2 separate regions of the Homo sapiens genome follow, and region 1 is linked to region 2. Evidence: promoter capture Hi-C in 16 types of primary human blood cells and fetal thymus (Javierre and others, 2016). All regions are on one chromosome and are shown on one strand. The core of a region is centred on a gene start or on the middle of the fragment in contact, and the rest is flanking DNA. Distances in the headings are between cores, read along the strand shown.

Evidence for each region. Contacts are between HindIII fragments. The CHiCAGO score rates a contact against its expected background, and 5 or more counts as called.
Region 1: a fragment that was not itself captured here is called in contact with the fragment with the promoter of HDDC3 in region 2 in 1 of 17 cell types (naive CD8 T cells); the score reaches 5.0 in naive CD8 T cells.

The regions. Positions count from the first base shown.
Region 1 is chr15:90,380,923-90,387,113 of GRCh38, forward strand. It overlaps the pseudogene NDUFA3P4. Among named protein-coding and RNA genes, the nearest start is that of IQGAP1, 4.2 kb to the right of the region's middle. The HindIII fragment of the contact is 1,603 bases long and covers 1,733-3,335 here.
Region 2 is chr15:90,928,087-90,934,357 of GRCh38, forward strand. HDDC3 (HD domain containing 3) reads right to left here and starts at 4,463. Exons shown (of 4, transcript NM_001286451.2): 1 at 4,343-4,463; 2 at 3,969-4,024; 3 at 3,618-3,858; 4 at 1,882-3,319. The coding sequence starts at 4,454. The coding sequence ends at 3,189. It also overlaps a transcript of UNC45A not described here. RefSeq lists enhancers at 1,771-2,000, 3,631-3,860, 4,611-4,660. The HindIII fragment of the contact is 1,585 bases long and covers 4,236-5,820 here.

The DNA of each region.
Region 1 (6,191 bases), core at 1,284-3,783, 550 kb before region 2:
GCCTCCGGAGTAGCTGGGATTATAGGCACACACCATCACACCTTGCTATTTTTTTTTCTTTTTTTAGTAGAGATGGGGTTTCATTGTGTTGATCAGGCTGGTCTTGAACTCCTGACCTCAAGTGATCCACCCACCTCTGCCTCCCAAAGTGCTGGGATTATAGGTGTGAGCCACTGTGCCTGGCTGAGACTGGGTAATTTATAAGAAAAGAAATTTAATTGGCTCACGGTTCTGAAGACTGTACAGGAAGCATAGTGGCATCTGCTTCTGGGGAGGCCTCAGGAAGCTTCCAATCATGGTGGAAGGTGAATGGGGAGGAGGCGCATCACATGGTGAAATCAAGAGTGAGAGACAGAGTGCCACACACTCTTAAATGACCAGATCTCATGAAAACTCACTCCCTATCACAAGAACAGCAGCAAGGGAATGGTGCTAAACCATTCAAGAGAAAACCGCCCCCATGATCCAATCACCTCCCACCAGGCCCCATCTCCAACACTGGGGATTATAGTTCAACATGAGATTTGGATGGGGACCAATATCCAAACTATGTCAACAATTGTGTTACTTCTCCATCTACTTTTCTCCTGGTAGCTGGCTAGTTTCTCTTAACACTGATTGTAAGACCTATCCTGATTTCAGAGGCATTTAAATATAAAAAAAATTGGGACTTATTTCTTGAAAATGTTGTACTTACTAGACAGTAAGACTTATTTCTGAAGATACCTGGTTTCTAAAAGTACTACTGGGAAATATAATAAATGAGGAAGTGATTAATTTTGCCTGGGGAGTAGGTGACATTTGAATTGGGTCTGGGAGGTTCAGTAGGAGTTTCCCAGGCAGATAATAGGCTAAAAGGTATTCCAAGCAAGGGAAACTTCTATTATGGTGCTTATCTCAAGATATCCTGTTAATATTGCTTGACTCCTCCTGGCTTGTAAATTCTTTGTGGTCATTAACCAATTTTGACTCCCAAAATGACCATTTACCTCATTATTTTGCCGTTTATTCATTTCATATTTACTAATTTTATTCATATTTATATTTGCTGACAAAATAGTATTTCCAGCAGCTCATTTTAAATACAGACAAGCAAGCAAGCAAACCCCACACAAATCCAGTGTAATAGCACTGCCTGGAGAAGCCACTGTTAATATATTGGTGTATATACTTCAAGGCTTTATCTATTCATATGCACATATCCATCAATGTATCTATCTATCTAGCTACATTTAAAACAAAATGGTATCATATTTATTAGTCATAATTTGATATATTAACTTAACCACAATATTAAAATATTGTACTGCCAGCCTGTACATTTTTTGCCTGCCCAGCCTCCCACTGAAGGAAATTATGCCCAGCTCATAGTTCTCTATGCTTAATTATCTGTATCTCCTGATCATAGTTGATTGAAGTAAAGGATCAGCATCCAATCTAAGGGCAGCCTGCCTGTGGGTGGTCAGAGATTTACCCACAGGGTGGAAAGCTGAGCTGGGTCAATCATATGCCACTCTATGGGTTATGGAGTTAGGCAATTGAGATGATCCTCAATGGAGCTGATGATGTAAGGATACCATGACCTTCAGTCAAAGCCATGGCAAGGCAAGCAGAAACAAGAGTTGTGAGGGAACAGAAAAAATTAAATGGAGTAAGCTGGTTAGCAAAGAGTGGAGAGTAGAGCCAGCCTGTGGAAAAGCAGAGATGCCCAGAGAATGAAACCATGACTTCAAGCTTTCATTAGTCCTGTTTTTTTTTGTTTAGTGTAGTTTTGTTTTTGGTGCAGTTCCAGTCCATATAGGTCTGTATAAGAAAGGCCTCCCTTCCAGCCTTTTTTCCTCTAGAAGTAAAACTGTGCATGTCTGTTTCCTGTAGCCAGTCAAGCCTGACCAGACCACAGATCATCACTGTTCATGGCTATATGGCATTCTATTGTGTATAGCTGCCATCACTGATTTAAACACCTACTGATGGACATTTGAGTAATTTCCAAGGAGCATCTTCATGGATAACTTTTGCACATTTAATAAAAGCACGATATCCTTATGATACATTCCAAGAAGTGAAGTTTTTTGGTTGAAGAATAGATGCATAATGATAAGCTGGTCTTTAGAAAGACTATATTAATTTATTGCCTACTAACATTGCATAAGAGTGGTTGCTTTTTCACCCCCTTGCCAATAATATCAATTAAAAAGACAAACCAAAATGTTGCTACATATGATAGGCAAGAAGTGATATGTGGCATGTTATCTTTTCTATTTTTTTTTTTTTTGGTGATGGGTCTCACTCTGTCTACCTGGGCAGGAGCACAGTGGCGGGATCACAGCTCACTGCAGCCTCAACTCCCAGGCTCAAGCGATCCTCCCACCTCAGCCTTTTGGGTAGCATGCCACCACGCTGGGCTAATTTTTTGTATTTTCTGTAGAGACGGGGTTTTTCATTTTGCCCAGGCTGGTCTTGAACTCCTGGCCTCAAGCAATCCTCTCTCCTCTGCTTCCCAAAGTGCTGGGGGGTATAGGTGTGAGCCGTTGTGCCTGGCCAGCATGTTATTATCTTAATGTCTATTTCTCTGAATCTTGAGTTTATTGACTAGGAATTGGGCTTTGTCATTAGACAGGCCTGGGTTTGAGTTCCAGCTCTGCCTCTTGCTGTGTGGCTTCAGGTAAGTAACCCAGTTCTCCATTTTCCCAAGTGTAAAATGGACATAATGGGATTATTACAAGGATCAGCTGAGAAAATAAATGTGCAACACTTAGTATAGTAAGGTACCAGTGCAGTTGGTAACTTAACATCTCTGTGGCTTTCACCTCAGACAAACTTTGTAATTAAGTAAAGAAAGCCTTTATGGAATGAACAATTGGATTAATATGTTGGAGTTAAGAAGAAATATTTCGGCTGGGCATGGTGGCTCATGCCTATAACCCCAGCACATTGGGAGGCCAAGGTGGGCAGATCACTTGAGGTCAAGAGTTCGAGACCAGCCTGGCCAACATGGCAAAACCTCACCTCCAGTAAAAATACAAAAATTAGCCGGGTGTGGTCGTGTGCGCCTGTAAGCCCAGCTACTCAGGAGGCTGAGGCAGGATAATCACTTGAACTTGGGAGGCTGAGGTTGCAGTGAGCCGAAATCACGCCACTGCACTCCAGCCTGGGTGACAGAGTGAAACTCTGTCTCAAAAAAAAAAAAAAAAAAAGAAGAAGAAGAAGAAATATTTCACATTTTATGTATTCGCAATGTTTAAGAAAATTTGGCCGACTTGAATGACAGCTTTTTTGTAAATCATTTTAAATGTGTAATTGAGTTAGTTTTAGACTTAGGTTTTTGAGTTGAAAGCTTACTAAGTTTACACATGGAATCAGGCCATCTAAGAGAATGTTAGCTTTGTTATGCTTGTATGTTTATTTATAGGAATTACTAAGTTTTGAAAAAGTTTTAAACAATTGAATGAATTAAAAAGAAAATCTAGGCCGGGCACAGTGGTTCACGCCTGTAATCCAAGCAGTTTGGGAGGCAGAGGTGGGTGGATCACCTGAGGTCAGGAGTTCAAGACCAGCCTGGGCAACATGGTGAAATCCCGTCTCTACTAAAAATACAAAAATTAGCTGGGCGCGGTGGTGCGTGCCTGTAATCCCAGCTACTCAGGAGGCTGAGGCAGGAGAATCGCTTGAGCCCAGGAGGCAGAGGTTGCAATGAGCCAAGATTGTGCCATTACACTCCAGCCTGTGCGACAGAGTGAGACTCCGTCTCAAAAAAAAAAAAAAGTTTTGAAAAAGTTTTATACGATTGAATGAACTAAAAAGAAAATCTAGGCCAGGTGCGGTGGCTCATGCCTGTAATCTTAGCACTTTGGGAGGCCGAGGCCAGTGGATCACAAGGTCAGGAGTTTGAGACCAGCCTGGCCAATATAGTGAAACCCCATCTCTAATAAAAAAATATATATATATATAAAATTAGCCAGGTGTGGTGGCGGGTGCCTGTAATTCCAGCCACTTGGGAGGCTGAGGCAGAAGAATCCCTTGAACCCGGGAGGCGGAGGTTGCAGTGAGCTGAGATTGCACCATTGCACTCCAGCCTGGGTGACAAGAGTGAAACTCCATCTCAAAAGAAAAAAAAAAAGAAAATGTAATAGGAAATCTAATATAGACAATATAATAGGCACAATTTATTCTTTATTATTATTTTTTATTTTTATTTATTTATTTTTTTGAGATGGAGTCTCGCTCTATTGCCTAGGCTAGAGTGCAGAGGCATGATCTTGGCTCACTGCAAGCTCCGCCTCCAGGGTTCACGCCATTCTCCTGCCTCAGCCTCCCGAGTAGCTGGAATACAGGTGCCCGCCACCATGCCCGGCTAATTTTTTTTTTTTTTGTGTTTTTAATAGAGCTGGGGTTTCACCGTGTTAGCCTGGATGGTCTCAATATCCTGACCTCGTGATTCGCCCACCTCGGCCTCCGAAAGTGCTAGGATTACAGGCGTGAGCCACCGTGCCCGGCAATTATTATTATTTTTTAAAAGACAGTCTCGCTCCGTCAACCAGGCTGGATTGCAGGAGCACAATCTCGGCTCACTGCAACCTCTGCCTCCTGGGTTCAAGTGATTCTCCTGCCTTAGCCTCCCGAGTAGCTGGGACTACAGGCGTGTGTCACCATACTAAGCTAATTTTTTTGTATTTTAGTAGAGACGGGGGTTTCACCATGTTGGCCAGGCTGCTCTCGAACTCCTGACCTAAGGTGATCCACCCACCTTGACCTCCCAAAGTGCTCGGATTACAGGTGTGAGCCACTGTGCCTGCCCTAGTAGGCATAATTTTAAATATTTGAAGATGTTGAATTAACTGAGTGAGACTTAAAAAAAAATTTTCAGGAAATTTCAGAATGCTCTATGTCCTCGTTGCCATTGCGGCTGCCTTTCTCAAGAATGCCTGGCCTAAGGAGCGGGTGCTGGTCCTGTTCCTCACCATCGGGGGCCTAGCTATAAATCTGACCCCAGTCTGCCCCTATACCATGTACTCCACCAGGATCAACTAGGCCACGCCCCACAACAACCCAGTGCCCCTCCGAGATGATGGGAACATGCTGGACATGCCCAGCCACCCCCAAGGCCCAAGCATGGAGTGGTTGAAGAAACTGCAAGCACTTCCATTGACATGGAGAAGACCATGTCCCCTGTGGCCCCCAATAAAAATGTGACCCCCCCGCCTCCGAAATAAATAAATCATTCAGTTTCTGAAAAGTGTTTGGTAAAATGTGCTAGACTTATAAATAGAATAATACAATTTGTAAAGTGAACTTAAAAGCTTAAGAATGAAATAACTTTTTACTTTGTAGGCTTAATAAATGAAACCCTTGCCCACTTTTCTACAGGGGTGTTTTGTTCTTACAGGTTTTCAAGTATCTTTAATAGTCTGAAGGAAGAGTGAATACATTGAAAATAGCTGGAGCAAAACATCTGGAGTCAGGCTATGATTTGGCATGCTAAATCATGCTGAACTTGGCCCATTATCTTGAAGGGAGGAATAGAAAAAAAAATTTAAAAAGAGAAACACAATTGCATTTGCACTTTAGAGAGAACACCCTGATAACTGTGAGGATCTAGTTGGCAGAAGGGCGACTACAGTGTAATCACAACAGGGATGGAGACAAAAGTAGACATCTCAGAAATAAACACAGATTGGATGTAGGGTGCGAGGCAAGGAGCCTGGGGTGTTCCCACTGGGAATTGAGTACTTCTGTGAATAGAGAATATAGCAGGAGCAGGGTCAGTATTTGACACGTGGGATTTGAAGTGTCTGCCCTATACACAGGTGAAAGTGTTCATTAGCTGAAAATACTGAGGGACTTCCAGACGATCTGGTCTGGTGATACATATCGAGGGGTCCTCAGCAGTTATAGGCGAGTGTAGAAAAGATTACTGAGTAGGCAAAGAATAAACGGAAGAGGGCCGGGCGCGGTGGCTCACACCTGTAATCTCAGCACTTTGGGAAGCAGAAGCGGGTGGATTACCTGAGGTCAGGAGTTCGAGACCAGCCTGATCAACATGGTGAAACCCTGCCTCTACTAAAAATACAAAAAAAGTAGTTGGGCGTGGTGGCGGGCACCTATAATCCCAGCTACTTGGGAGGCTGAGGCGGGAGAGTCGCTTGAACCCGGGAGGCGGAGGTTGCAGTGAGCCGAGATCGCGCCACTGC
Region 2 (6,271 bases), core at 3,213-5,712:
GAGGCCAAGGCAGGCGGATAACTTGAGGTCAGGAGTTTGAGACCAGCCTGGCCAGCATGGTGAAACCCTGTCTCTACTAGAAATACAAAAATTAGCCGGGCGTGGTGGCACACATCTGTAATCCCAGCTACTAGGGAGGCTGTGGCATAAGAATCGCTTGAACCCAGGAGGCAGAGGTTGCAGTGAGCCGAGATTGCGCCACTGTACTCCAGCCTGGGTGACAGAGCGAGAATCCATCTTAAAAAAAAAAAAAGGCTCTGGAACATTTCATTTCCTGTTTTGTTACTGACCTGTGACTCTGTAAAAGTCTACTTTCGCAATTTGGATTAATAATTTTATGAATGCAAATTGGAGATGCTGTTCAAAAAAAAAAAAATAGAAAAGTCTTACAAAGGAAAGACAATCACAGTGATAGCAGACATCTAGTTAGCTACAGTAGACACCTGGAGTCCATTCAAACCTAGAGAAAACTCAGCCTTGAATTTGCTATCAGCTACACCATTCAAGAGCACGGGGGAAATGAAGACATTTTCAGACATGCAAAGACTCAACAGTTTGCAATGTACAAAACTTTAGTGGAAGAAAGTAGGTGTACTTAAGCAAAAAGAGAATTTGTCTAGGGGCATAAACTAATGAGAGGGAGGGTACACCTAAATACTGGCTATAAATGTAATACTAGTTTATAGTTTAAAAAGAGGCAGGAACTAAAATTCTAGAAAGCAATATTGTGAAGAGTTATTCAAGGCTGGGCACAGTGGCTCACGCCTGTAATCCCAGCACTTTGGGAGGCTGAGGTGGGCAGATCACCTGAGGTCAGGAGTTCGAGACCAGTGTGGCCAACTTAGTGGAACGCCATCTCTACTAAAAAATAAAAAATAAAAAAATCCAAAAACAGGTACTAAGAGGACAGACCTTGCATCAAATGGTGCTAGGAAAACTGGACATCCACAAGCAAAACCATACATCATATATTTTGTATATGGTGTATATACAAAAAAATTACACCATATACAAAAATTAACCCAAAATGTTCTTGCCACAAAAACAACAAAAAATTGGGTAACTACGTGAAATGATGGATGTGTTAATTTGCTTCACTATAGTAACCTTTTTACTACCTGTATGTAGCCTCATAACATCATGTATACCTTATACCAAATTAAATTGATTTAAAAAGAAATTTAACCCAAAATGGATCAAAAACTTTACTTGTAAGAGCTAAAACGATAACTTTGGGAGGCCAAGGCGGGTGGATCACCTGAAGTCAGGAGTTAAAGACCAGCCTGGGCAGCAAGGATAAATCCCGTCACTACTAAAAATACAACAATTAGCCATGCGTGGTGGCGCACGCCTGTTATCCCAGCTACTCGGGAGACTGAGGCAGGAGAATAGCTTGAACCCGGGAAGCGGAGGTTATGGTGAGCAGAGATGGCACCATTGCACTCCAGCCTGGGCAACAAGAGTGAAACTCCGTCTCAAAAAAAAAAGCTAAAACGAAAGCTCCTAGAAGAAAACAGGAAAAGCTTCATGGCATTAGATTTGGCAACGATTTCTTAGATATGACACTAAAAACACAGGCAACAAAATATATAAAGTGGACTACAACAAAGTCATCTTTTCTTAAAAAAATCTCGTTATCTTACTCCCGCAAAACTATTTAAAAAAATTAAGTTCAAAGTTCTCCAAAATGTACCATACCCTGGGGATTACTCTGAACTTTGTTCATTTGTTTTCTTTTAATTCGGCTTTTTTGGTTGCCTTTCACCTACTTTTTCGCAGAGCCCTCCGCTGGGGCCTTCACTTGGGCAAACAACTATCGTAGTCGAACAGCTTTGACCTAACAATTTCCTCGTACCCAAGATGATCGCTTTTCCAGACAACTTAATAAACTTTGGCTTTAATGGATGACTGGATGCAGAATAAAATACATAAAAATAAACCTCAGCTGCTCAGCAACGACTGAAAAACCACCACCGGGCAATCCCTCCCCATGGCCACCGAGCAAAGTTCCACCGCCTCCCCTACGCCGACCGCCGGGCTCCCGGGGTCGGACAGCCCCGGGCCACTTCCGGGCCTTCCCGGAAGTCCCTGTCACTTAACAACCGAAGTAACCCGCAATGCGGAAGGGCGAGGGGATTGCGAGTCACCGAGTTTCCCGCGCGGCTTGAGGTACTGGGGAACCGGAATCCCCCACCGGCCCAATCATGTTGCTGCTGGGGTCTCTCCGGTGCCCAGCAGTGGTTGTCAGTAAGCGGGCGGCACTCCCTTCCGATACGTCTTTTCTTTTTTCATTTTTGAGACGGAGTCTCGCTGTGTCACCCAAGCTGGAGTGCAGTGGCGCGATCTCGGCTCAGTACAAACTCCGCCTCCCGGGTTCAAGCGAGTCTCCTGCCTCAGCCTCCTGAGTAGCTGGGATTACAGGCGCGAGCCACTGCGCCCGGCTAATTTTTTTTTGTATTTTTAGTAGAGACGGGGCCTCGCCATGCTGGCCAGGCTGGTCTTGAACTCCTGACCTCAAGTGATCCGCCCGCCTCGGTCTCCCAGAGTGCTGGGATTACAGGCGAGAGACACCGCGCCTGGCCCCCTTCCAACTTTCTTAACGGGAAAGGCTGCTACCATTTCTTGAGCACCTATGTGTCAGGCTCCATCAGGCACGTCACAGTCTAACCTGATAATTACACAACCCATGTCACTGACAAGGAAGCCAGGTTCGGAGGGGTTGAGGCCCGCAACCTGAGGGAGGTGACTCCGGGACACACAATTAGTCCTGCTTTGCTGAAGGAAAGATATGCAGCCCACCAGTCGGAGGCTGGAGAAGGAGCAGCAGCAGCTTAAACCTTAACCCAGAGTTATTTTTATTTTCCAGAACGTGTTAGGAACTAGTACTTAAATAATCTCAAGTCCCTGAGGGGCCAGAGATCCCACCATGCAAAATAGCAAACAGACCCAAGACTTGGGGAGAGGCGGTGAGTGCATCAGAAATGGATGGGTACATCTGATTCCCACCACGCGGGGCTCAGCTTAGTTAGCAGGAGACCTTCAGACTGAGAAAAAATGCAAGTCTTTTTTTGGCCTCTAATATCTGGGAAGGATGGAGGGAGCTCAGGAGACACAGAAAAGATGGCGTATGAATCCTGTCCGGCCTGAACGAGGCTGGAGTTGTGCCTCTGGATAGCTTCAAGCACTGATCAGATTGTCAGCCCCCGCTGCTTGAACAGATGCTTTAGAGCCTCTTCCAGTTGCCGGTTTGTTCCCTGAAGCCCCTTCACCACCTGCGCTGCCCACTCGAAGTATTCCTGGACTCGATGTTCTGACCATCCTGCATAAGAGTCGACAGAAACTTGCTAGCGTGATGTCAAGGAAAGCACTGCCTTTTCCCCACTTCCTGGCAAGCTTGGTTCAAGGCCATGAGTTCCTGATGGAATGAGCTGTCCTGAAAACTTCCCCTTGGCCCAGCTATTGTATTTTTACTGTATGAAAGAAGATCAAAGAGTGGTCCAGTAGGATTAATTTGGGAATTAAGAATGCCCAGGGTTTTTCAGGGGAACTGACCAACATGTGTCTTCAGAAGGCGGCATCCCCCTCCCTTTTCCCTTACAGCCCATACGAAAGCGTACCCTCTGGGGTGCAGCGATTCAGGTCCCTCAGATTGTACAGCTTGTCTGCCAGCTTCACCAGTTTGGCCCCGGGGCTACTGTGGGGCGCTTGCTCCACCTGCAGCCTCTTTCTCTCCAGCTTGGGCAGAGTCTTGTCATCTGTTACCTCCTCCACCAGGCGCCGCACTTGTGCCCCAAAGTGTAGCTCCACCTCATCCAGGGTGGTGTCTGTGTCCTCCACCGTGTCATGGAGCAGGGCCGCCTGGGGACAAGTTCCCACTCAGCCCTGAGATGTCAGCCAAGGGTTGCCCATTGCTGAATGGGGCCCCTAATCCCCATCCCAGGCTCCTGGCAGAGAAGGGGGAAAGTTACCTGTAACACCACAATGTCAGTGATTCCCGCCTCGTGGGTCAGGATCCGTGCCACACCTGACGGGGAGGGGCAAAGCAGGAAGTCAGGTCGGAGGTAGTCCCAAGGCGGTGTGTTGTGGGTTTTGGAGAGCCAGATGTGGCCCCTTGTGGACTCTGACTAGCTGGGTGACCTTGGTCAAGTACCTTACCCTCTGGGAGCCAACCGACAAAGGGAACGATCATGCCTACCGTTCCAATTGTTATGAGGCTTAAACGGTATATCGCACTAAGCTTGGGACAAAACAGGTGCTCAATGAGGTGCACGCCCCCCACGTTTCCTTCCCAGTCCCCACCACCCAGGTGCCGCAGCCGGCGCTCCGCGGCCGACGCGCCCACCGATGGGGTGGTTGATGTAGGGGGTCCCCTCGGGGTCCTTCCGCCGCTGCTGCCGGTGCTTGCGAGCCGCGAAGTCGGCAGCCTCCAGCAGCTGCGCCGCCTCAGAGCCCATCGCGCGGATGGGGCCGACGACTGCGGCCGCAGGGGCAGGGACGGAACGTTTACAGCGCCCCCTGGCGCCGGGGAGGCCCGGGGATCGTGGAGGCTAATTCAGCGGGCCGAGTTGGGCCTGCCCCAGATGAATTCCTCTGGAGCTGACCGGCCCGCGCAGAGAGCAAGTGATGTGGACAGCTGCCTTCAGCATCGCAGCCCCCAGCTCAGTGTGCTCTGTTGGGGGTGCAAGAAGAACATAAGCCTGGCTCTTTGGGAGCCCACAGTCTGTGGAAAAGAGGAAGACAGACAAGAAATAAGGCAGTGGCCTCACAGTGCTCTGAATCCAGGGTGGCCAAGGCTCAGGGGACTATGGGAGCGGGAAGAAAGAACAATCCCCACACCCTCAGAGTCAGAGACAGCTTCTCCCAGAAGCTCCCCCCAAGAACCATCTTCAACCTGTAAAAGCTCTGAAAATTCTCCAAGTGTTCTAAAAATAGTTCTCCCTGTAGGGATGGGCCAGGTTCTGTGGGCAGGGGAGTCTACCTTTGGACCCTCCAGGAGACCCTAGGGCCTGACCTGAAAAATCAGAGCCTTCCCTGGGAGCCCTGCCTAATTGCTTCAGACTTAGGCTCCCAGGTAGCTGTGACGTTTCTGCAGGAACTGCCTTTGTTTGTCCTCAGTGTTGCAGATGAAATTTGCCTTGTCTTCTTATGCTATGAGAGCTCCTATTTCAGTCTCTAGGCATCTTCTGTGGGCCCCTGGGGTGATGAGTGTTGTCACTGCTGTCCTGGGAGCATGATGTTGTCAGGCCTGGGTAGGCACTGGAATAACACTTAATTCTGCTGGCTGGTGGCCTTCTGGAGAAATTCCCTGCCTTAGGGGCAGCTGAGGGGTAAGAGAGACCTGGTGATCCCCATAGAACTTCTCTGTGAGAGGGGGTTCCCTATTAGCTAAGTATACTCTAATCAGACATGTAGCTTTTGTGTTCTGGCTGGTAGCTGGGGCAGATAAGGCTCAGGGGAAAGGCTAATGAAAGGAGTCACCCTTGGTTTTCAGCTAGTCTTGGTGGTTGCCACGTAGCAGAGGTTAGGGAGGGAAGCCCCACATGCTGGAACTGAGGTCTCTGGGACCTGAAATAGGAGGGTCAGAATTCCCAGAGCTTCCATGGCAGCCTGGAAGTTGGAGAATGGGTAGAAACATATTTGGCTGTAAATGCTTGTTTGTTCTTCATACTAATGGCTCAGCTGCTCTCTCATCCCTCATTCTGTCCTCTAGTCCTTTGAGCCTTCTCTCCTTCAGCAGTTTGGCAATGCAGGCCCCACGTTTTCCAACAGGAGACAGAAACCCAGTCCCTGTCATCTCTCTCTAAAAGCCTGTGATAGAGAAGCTTCAGGCTCGTATTAATGGTGCCCAAGGGCCTTGGGGCTTTGACTTTTATTTCCTTATTGTCTGCAGTCACGGCCTAGAAAGAGAGATGTTGGGGTTCCCAGGACCAGGACAGAGGTGGTAGTGAACTCTCATGGGCATCCAGAGAAGGTCAGGCCCCTTGCTGACAGGCCTATCTGTGGGGCTACTGCTGCTCTTCAGCTGGGTGACCCTTGTCCAGCCAACCTCTCTCTCAGGTACAGCACTTACCCCTGTGGCCCACCTGCCTCTGGTGCTATGGGCTATTCCTGGGAACTGGAACTGATGGGGATGGGTGGAAGGGCATCTTTTCTTCTGGTAGGGGCTGATCTCTTTTACTCTCCAGTAGGGGTGGAGTGAGCTGTGGAAAGGCCCCTCCTGCTTGTCTCTAGCACCCCCACCTCTCTCTTCAGCTCTGGTCCACCACCCTCA